2 separate regions of the Homo sapiens genome follow, and region 1 is linked to region 2. Evidence: promoter capture Hi-C in 16 types of primary human blood cells and fetal thymus (Javierre and others, 2016). All regions are on one chromosome and are shown on one strand. Each heading gives the region's core, a stretch centred on a gene start or on the middle of the fragment in contact. The rest is flanking DNA. Distances are from core to core; before and after follow the strand shown.

Evidence for each region. The method cuts DNA at HindIII sites, captures the fragments that hold promoters and counts their contacts. A CHiCAGO score of 5 or more calls a contact.
Region 1: a contact is called between a fragment that was not itself captured here and the fragment with the promoter of GATAD2B in region 2, in 5 of 17 cell types (M1 macrophages, M0 macrophages, fetal thymus and 2 more). The highest score is 8.8, in M1 macrophages.

The regions. Positions count from the first base shown.
Region 1 is chr1:154,177,004-154,180,698 of GRCh38, reverse strand. All of the region lies in intron 2 of TPM3 (tropomyosin 3), which reads left to right. Among named protein-coding and RNA genes, the nearest start is that of TPM3, 13 kb to the left of the region's middle. RefSeq lists an enhancer at 1-506. The HindIII fragment of the contact is 2,058 bases long and covers 226-2,283 here.
Region 2 is chr1:153,920,481-153,924,389 of GRCh38, reverse strand. GATAD2B (GATA zinc finger domain containing 2B) reads left to right here and starts at 1,418. Exons shown (of 11, transcript NM_020699.4): 1 at 1,418-1,657. LOC101928059 (a long non-coding RNA gene) reads right to left here and starts at 1,017. Exons shown (of 4, transcript XR_922160.3): 1 at 428-1,017. RefSeq lists silencers at 343-637, 1,315-1,634 and an enhancer at 945-1,184. The HindIII fragment of the contact is 8,959 bases long and covers 1-3,064 here.

The sequences.
Region 1 (3,695 bases), core at 5-2,504, 260 kb before region 2:
TGACCTCAAGTGATCTGCCTGCCTCAGCCTCCCAAAGTGCTGAGATTACAGGCATGAGCCACTGCGCCTGTCCTGGGGTGATGTTTCTTAAGCTACTTTCACTCAGAGCCTGCCAAATTTGCTTATTGAGCTGAGGTCTAGTGAGGAAGTCCTCAGAATGGGGAAGTAGAGTTATAGTTAAATATTGATGAAATCATTTCTTCTACTCCCCAGCCTGAAGAAGCTTAATCTTTTGACTTTCTGCTGCTCTGCTGAACTTTGAACCCCTACTGAGGAGGAGACACCTGTGGGAAGGGAGGGGGGTTGCTTGGGCTACCTGTTATCCTCTTAAGGCATTCTGGAATGTGGGTTTTGCAGACTCCTCCCTCCTCTGGAGCGGGAAACTGCACTCTCTGATGGTATCTCATGCTGTTAGTGGGATTGTCACTTAATTATTTTCCTGGTTACTTTGTGTGAACATCCAAGCCACCCTTGTTGGGAAGCTAGATGAGTCTAAAACTGAGACACTGGTGTTCTAGGATCCATCTTTCTTTTCTGCTCTCGGCCTGGAAATTGGTCTTTTATAATGTAGCACCTTGTCAAATTTACTTTCAGTTCTGTATTTCCTTTTTACTTCTGTCTAAATGGAAACAGATGGCAACATAATGTTTAAATGCAGTCTTTTTCCTTATCTCTTTTTTTTTGTGGTAGTGGTGATAAAAATACATGTAAAATTTACCATTTTAACCATTTATAAATGTACAGTTCACCTTATCTGTTTTTAATAACTCTCTCCTAATTGTCCCTGATATTTTTCTCTTTTTAATTTTTTTCTAGTCTAAAAAACTTAAGAGGCTGGGTGCGGTGGCTCACACCTGTAATCCCAGCCCTTTGGGAGGCCTAGGCGGGTGGATCTGAGGTCCACCTGTGGATCTGATGAAACCCCATCTCTACTAAAAATACAAAAAATTAGCTGGGCATGGTGGCGCATGCCTGTAATCCCAGCTACTTGGGAGGCTGAGGCACAAGAATTGCTTCAACCCTGGAGGCGGAGGTGGCAGTGAACCAGGATTGGATCATGCCACTGTACTCCAGCCTGGGCGAGTATCGGCACTGGGGGAGTGAGGGGTCAACTGCGGGAGTGTAAGGTCAGCACACTACCTCTGCCTCAAAAAGAAAAAAAAAAGTAATAACAAAAACCTTAAGAGTACTACCGAGGGAGTGGGCTTTGATTCTGGCCTTAATCCTAAATTCCTAGTCTCTGGAGAGGTTAGAATGCTTGACTGTTGTGTGGTTCTCTTCTATTCGTGGGCCTGGTGGACTAAGCAACCTTTCTTTGGTTGCTTTGCTTTCCTTTCTCTTTCCCCAGTACTAGAACACACACTCACAGGGGAGAGGCAGATAGCCCTTTACCCCTGCTTAGGCTCCGCCTTTGTTTACTGTGGGGCAGATAGCTCTACTCCCTTCCAACTTGCCTCCCCTTTGGTGAAGTTTAAATTCCCCAAGGACACGGTATCTCCCTGGGTAATGCATTTGTGAGCACAGTGAACTCAAATAGTCCTTTACTCACAGGGCTCAAGCCTAACTTTCTGATACTCTTTCATTTGAATTTTATCTGTGGCTTTTATCTAATAAGAGAAACCCCAGTGTGGCAGAAAGCCAGATTTAGGCTAATCCCCTTCTGTCCTTGGCCCTGTTCTGCCTGAGAGTACCATCACACTGTCAGTTTCTTGCCTGGAGGGGTTGACATATTTGGGAAATCTCTTTGGAGTGGAGGATAGCCGAAGGTGTTGTCAGCCATCTGGTAATGTGACTGAGTTGCTGGGGCATTCTACTCTTTCCCCAATCCCTCACCCAGGATCTTTGCTTCCTGGGCAGTGGAGAATCCTATTATTACTTGAAGGGAAGAACCACAGAGTACTGTATATCCTCCACACTGGGCAGAGATAGGTCAGCTGAAACACCAAAACCGCATCTGGATGGGCATGCTAAAACCTAAGATGATTAGGAAAGTGCAGAGCTTAACGTTTCCCAGGGCCACAGGTAGCCTGGTCTGCAAAAAGTAGGCCTGTTCAATCTCTTGGTACCCATTGGTATTATTTGACCTGAAAGGGACAGGCACTGTGCATAGACTCATGAGGGAAAAGTCAGCTTGTCTTCCTTGTTCCTTTAAACAAAGTATCAGATCTTGATTCTGCAGGCTTTTGTTTCATTGTAAAGAGAACTGATCCTCTGTGCTAGGAGAAAAGAGAAAGGCAAGGTCCCATTCCCTACCACTCCACCCTGGAGGGGGTCTCTGAAGCTTTTTCTAGGACTCCCATCTCAGGTTCTGCTTTTGATACAGGCTTGTTCATGTGTGCATGCTCTTAGGAGGGCACCAAGATGTGTTTTCCCCCTCTCCCTTTTCAGCCTTGCTAAGAATTCTATTGTAAATGCTGATTTGTGGGAGAAACTGCCTGAGCCAGCTTGCTGTCATGGCAACTGTACACCCCCGCCCCATAGCCTGTTATCTTCTACTCCAGTTTGGGTAACTACTGGTGAGCTGCATGATGTCTTACATTTCATGAGCTTCCTCTAAATCTAGTTGTATTTTTCGTCTGAGGGGGGTAAGTCATTTTACTAGCAGTGTCTCCTAGGTCTTGCCTGATAGCCTGACTTGCTCTTGATCCATGGCCTTGTTGGGTTTGTGAGGAGAAATGTGTGTTGTTACAGAGAACATCTATTTTTCTGGAAGAGGCAGAAGCAGAGAATACTTGTCTTTGTGGTGTTTTGAGTAGTGTAGTTAGAGGCACAAATGGTTTCTTAATGATTTCAGCTTATGTTGACTTCTCGATTTTCTTTGCCTGGTGGCTAGATTGTAGCCCCAGCCCTCTGCTTCCCTTCCTAGTCTCTTCAGCTTCTCATGTTTGTATGTGGAAGTTTTTGTGCCAGTCCTGATGGTTAAAAAGGAGTCTTTTGGTCTATATTCTTCCTCATCGGAGCTAGTGGCCCAGGCTGTTTCTATAGCTGCACCAACTCCTGCCTGCCAGGAAGAAATCAGGGTAATAGAATTCAGGCACAATCTGGGCTATAGAAGAGAGATCGTGTTTACCAGGCACTTGGATAAGCATCTGAACTGGGTGGTGTGCGGGGCATATTAAATTCTTGTATACTGTTGCAGTCAGGGTACCTCCCACCAGTAAAGGTAGCGGGGAGGCAGTCATGGAAAGAGGTTTTCCTACCATTAGAATTTATCCATCCACCTGCAGGCTGCCTCCTTCTTTCCTTGTTTCTTAGAGAAAACCCATCCAGGATGGGTTTACTTGGACTCTAACCTATATACTTCATTGTGAGATGGAGGCCAGGGGGAAGATTGTCGCTGTATTAGAGGGTGAAGCTAAGGGGATGGCTGGAGGAATAGAAAGGAGAAAATTCAGAAATTTGGAGGAATGGTAGTGGGTGTGGTGGAAATGTTCTTTCTTTTTTGTAAAGCTATCAAAGCAGATAATTTTAGCCAGAAGCAGCTCCTTGTAGCCAACTTAAAAAAGGAGTACGGGGGCACAAGTTGAAGGGCTGGTGAGTAGGCATCCCAACAATATTCCATTCTTTTGCTTTCCAGTCTGGAAGGCTATTCTGGAAGACATTCCCTTGGCTAGTTATTCTTCTGATGTGTTAGGGTAAAGTGATCATAGGAATAACGGTTTGAGTTAAGCAGCAATTAATAGGTAATCCAGGAT
Region 2 (3,909 bases), core at 169-2,668:
TCACCTGAGGTCAGGAGTTCGAGACCAGCCTGGCCAACATGGCGAAACCCCGTCTCTACTAAAAACACAAAAATTAGCCGCGCGCCTGTAATCCCAGCTACTCGGGAGGCTGTTGAGGCAGGAGGATCGTTTGAACCTGGGAGGCGGAGGTTGCAGGAACTGAGATTGTACCACTGCACTCCAGCCTGGGAGACACAGTGAGAAAACAACAATAACAAAATGCCTGTGGAACCAGTTGTTTCTGGGTTTAAACCACTGCTTAGTCACTAACTAGCGGTCTGACCTTTGGCAAGTTACTTAACCTCTCTGAGCCTTAGTTTCCTCATCTACTTGGGTTCAAATTTCAGCTCTACCACTTAACGTGTAACTGGACAAATTTTTTGATCCTAATTTTCCTCATTTGTAAAGTAGGGATAACAGTACCTACCTCACAGTCATGAGGAATAAATACTTCATGTAAAGTTCTTAGCACAGAGCCTGACACAGTCTCTTTCCAAAAACGTTAACTACTATCATAACCTTAACACCCGGACTCTGTTACTTGGTCCCTATCCTCAAGGTGCTCCAGAAACGCTCGCTGAGTTTAGGCGGGCCTAACTGCTCCGTGGAAGCAGGGAGGCCAGCAAAAGGAGCTGGCCCTTGAGTTAATTAGGTGGAATCGGGCGGGGTGGGAGGCTGTTTCCTCGCTGAGAACCTAACCAGACCAGGAGTTCCCAAGAGAAGGAGCTGCGAGGGCTCTGCACACCGTAATTCCTCAGCAACTTGGCTAGCTGCTTTTTTTTTTTTCCTGCTGTCGTGGTTTAGTCACGACAGGACCAAGCGGAGGTACGATGAACACCAGGAAGCTCAAAGCCTTTGGCAGACGGAGACAGGCCACACCCCAAAAAGACGGCAAGGCTCAAGCGCCTAAAGCTAGTTCTATCGTGAAATTTCCTAGAGTCTGTCGCGACGAAACACCGCCCACCGCAGACCCCATCGCCGTTCGCCAGTCTCCATCTTTAGAATTGAAAGAATGAGAGATGGCCAAAGGGGAATCCCGGTTTGGAGAGACTGGGGTACGGCGGCTGCCTGGGGACCAAAACGTCTCTAAGGTAAAGTTGCAGCCTGAAGCGATTTTTTGACCCCCGACACTTAATGGGCTGTCGAAGACCCGGATGTGTCTGGGACTGGCAGAGGTACCCATTAACGCGCCCCCGCTAGACCATCCCCCCTCCTCCGTTTATGATTGGGTTTTAAGCACGCCAATCATCACTTCTCCGGCCACTCATTCTTCAAGGGTGGGGTGAAGTCCCGGCATCTAGTCTTCTACTGGCATGGCCGAGAAGATGAGGGCGGGGTGGCCGGCTTAGGTCGCCCAATGGGCGTCGTGGCGTGTGGGTAAGGCGGAGCCGAGGCGCTTGGCAGCTGCCCAATCAGCGTCCTTGTTTGTGTGGTGCCGCCGCCGCCGGTGCAGCCGTCGCCGCCGCCGCTGCCCCCGTCTGTACCGCAGTGTCTGCTCCGCCCGCCCGCCCCGGTCCGGCCCGCCCCCCTCCCCTACCCCCGTCCCTAGTCCCGTCAGCAGGGTCTGGATCCCCTGTGCCGTCGCCTCTTCCTTTTTCGACGCCTCCGCCGCCGCCTGAGGAGGCGAGCTAGCCGGGAGTTACACCGCCACCGCCAGGTGAGGAGCTTTGGCCTAGGCCAGCCTGGCCGCCCGCCCGCCCGGGGGCGGTGAGGAGCGAGGAAGGGAAGGAGGCTGGGAGGAGGCAGTGGTGGCGGAGGTGGGGGAAGGGAAAGGTGGAGGGGCGGGGGGAGGGGAAGCGCCCGCGAGCCGACGCCCGCCCGCGCGCCCCCGCCTTGCGTCCCCCTCCCCCCACCCCGGCACGGCGCGCCCCCGCCTCGCGCTCCTTCTTCACCTCATCCTCTCCCCCCTTGGCGCGCGCGACCCGGTCTTTCACTTCGGCCTCGCGCGCCCCCAGCTCGTGTCCCTTCATTTCGTCTCCTTGTACTCTTTCTCCCCTCCCTCACGCCCCGTTTCCCCCGCCATCCCCGCTTTCACTCCCTGCCTCATGCCCGCCATGCTCCCCTCCTTTCCTCTCTAGCGCGCCCCCCCCTTTTTTTTTTTAACTCTCTCCACCCCCAGTGGTGCCCTCAGGGTGCGGGGGCCGCTCCCTGCTCAGTCTTGTGTTTGCGGGCGGATGGGACGAATGGGGAATCTAAGGGTAAAGGAAGCACCAGATAATTATCTTTATTTAGGGAAAGGGATCAGGAGCGCATAACCTTACCCCTTTATTTCGTCGTCCACCGTTCGCTCGCCCTCCCGTAGGGGAAGAGAATTGTCTCAGGCTATGTGGGCACTTAGCTTCTACAGCGACTGGGCTTGTGGGACACACTGGATCTGTCTTCCAGTTCAGTTCCTGAGGGTCGGTGGAACTTACCCTTCCCTAACCACACCGGGACTTAGAGTACTTTTGGCCTCCCTGCTCTCAATTACATTGAGGAGCGAGCCACTCATGCGAGTGCAGAGGTTCAGGTGCCATTCGCGCGCCCGGTACAGCTTTCCCGTTTCATAAAGGTATGGTAGCCTCTTTGGATTCTTCCCCAGCATCAACTTCCAAACACAAGATGTTAGCTCATAGGGCTGGCAGTGAGGTGGAGATGGAGGCTTGGTGGTGGGTGGCATGTGGATGCTAACTGAGCTAGCTAGCAACCTTTTCTCTGTTGTCCCCTGGAAAATCAGGTAGCCTCCTGAGAACCAGTTTTCTCATTTCTGATAAATGCTTATTTGGGGGGCGTGTGTGTGTGCGTGTGTGTGTGTGTAAGAGAGAGAGAGAGATGGGGGGATACTTAATACATTTCAGCAGAGGCGAAGGATACTTAATATATTTCAGCAAAGGGCAAGAGCAGTGTTTTCAGGCCAGACTGCAAAAGAGGGATTTGGATTTGTAGCTGATGGAATTAAAACAGGTTTAACAGATCTGTGTTGGAGAAGAGCTGATGCTTTTGTAGTTTTTAGGACATTTTTTCTAAAAATTTATATTTTGAGTAGAAAAGCATGCATGTGGTTGTACAAAGTGAAAAGTAAGCTTCCTTCCCATCTCTGTCCTCCAGCCATCTAGTCTCCTTCCCCTCCTAGCACAGATGACTTTGATGTTTTCTGGCAGCAGCATGGTGCCTATATGTTGTTGGTGATTATCCTGTTTGGGAGTTTAGTGCTAACTTTATTGCTTTTCATTTGGTATGCTGACCTGAACTCTTCCTTGCAGTCTGATAACTTGGATTCTTATTTTGGTGCTGGAGCAGCCTTTCAAGTATTGTCCTAGAGTAGTATTTCTGTCAGTACTTAGTTGGGAAGGAGGCCACTTCTGGAGGTGCTATGGAGGAGTTCAGTATATTTTGAGGGAAGGCCCACACTTGTTGGATCGTGCTGCTTTTTTTGTGACGGATATCTAGTCCCTGGCCATTTGGGAATGGACTGGGTCAAGGATCGGATTCATATAAGCAGATAGCTTATATGAATAACTAGTTGATGGTAAGGCTGTCTTCACTTTTTAGGGGAATAGAGTTTTTTTAGTCCAGTGGCAGTGATAGTCATCATGGAACAAGGTAGAAAAGTACTAATCAGCAGGAATCAGAAGGCTGAATCTATAGGCTGAGTGACCCAGTTTGAGTAGAGGTGAGGCTTACAGACTTTTGTCCTGCCTATTATTCCTTACTTGAGAACACTCTCCATGAGGTGAGAGTGATTTGTAGTTGACAGCAGCATCCATCTTTATGACACTGTGGTTTGCCTTCCCTGACCGTATGTGATGTGTGTTAACTTCCTGTTTAGAGGCAGTCCCAGTAGGGTCTGAATATAGGCTGCACTCAAATACTTTTCTAGGAACAGTGTTAACCAGGTTCCCTGATCAGCCCTTCAAATCTAAATTCTGG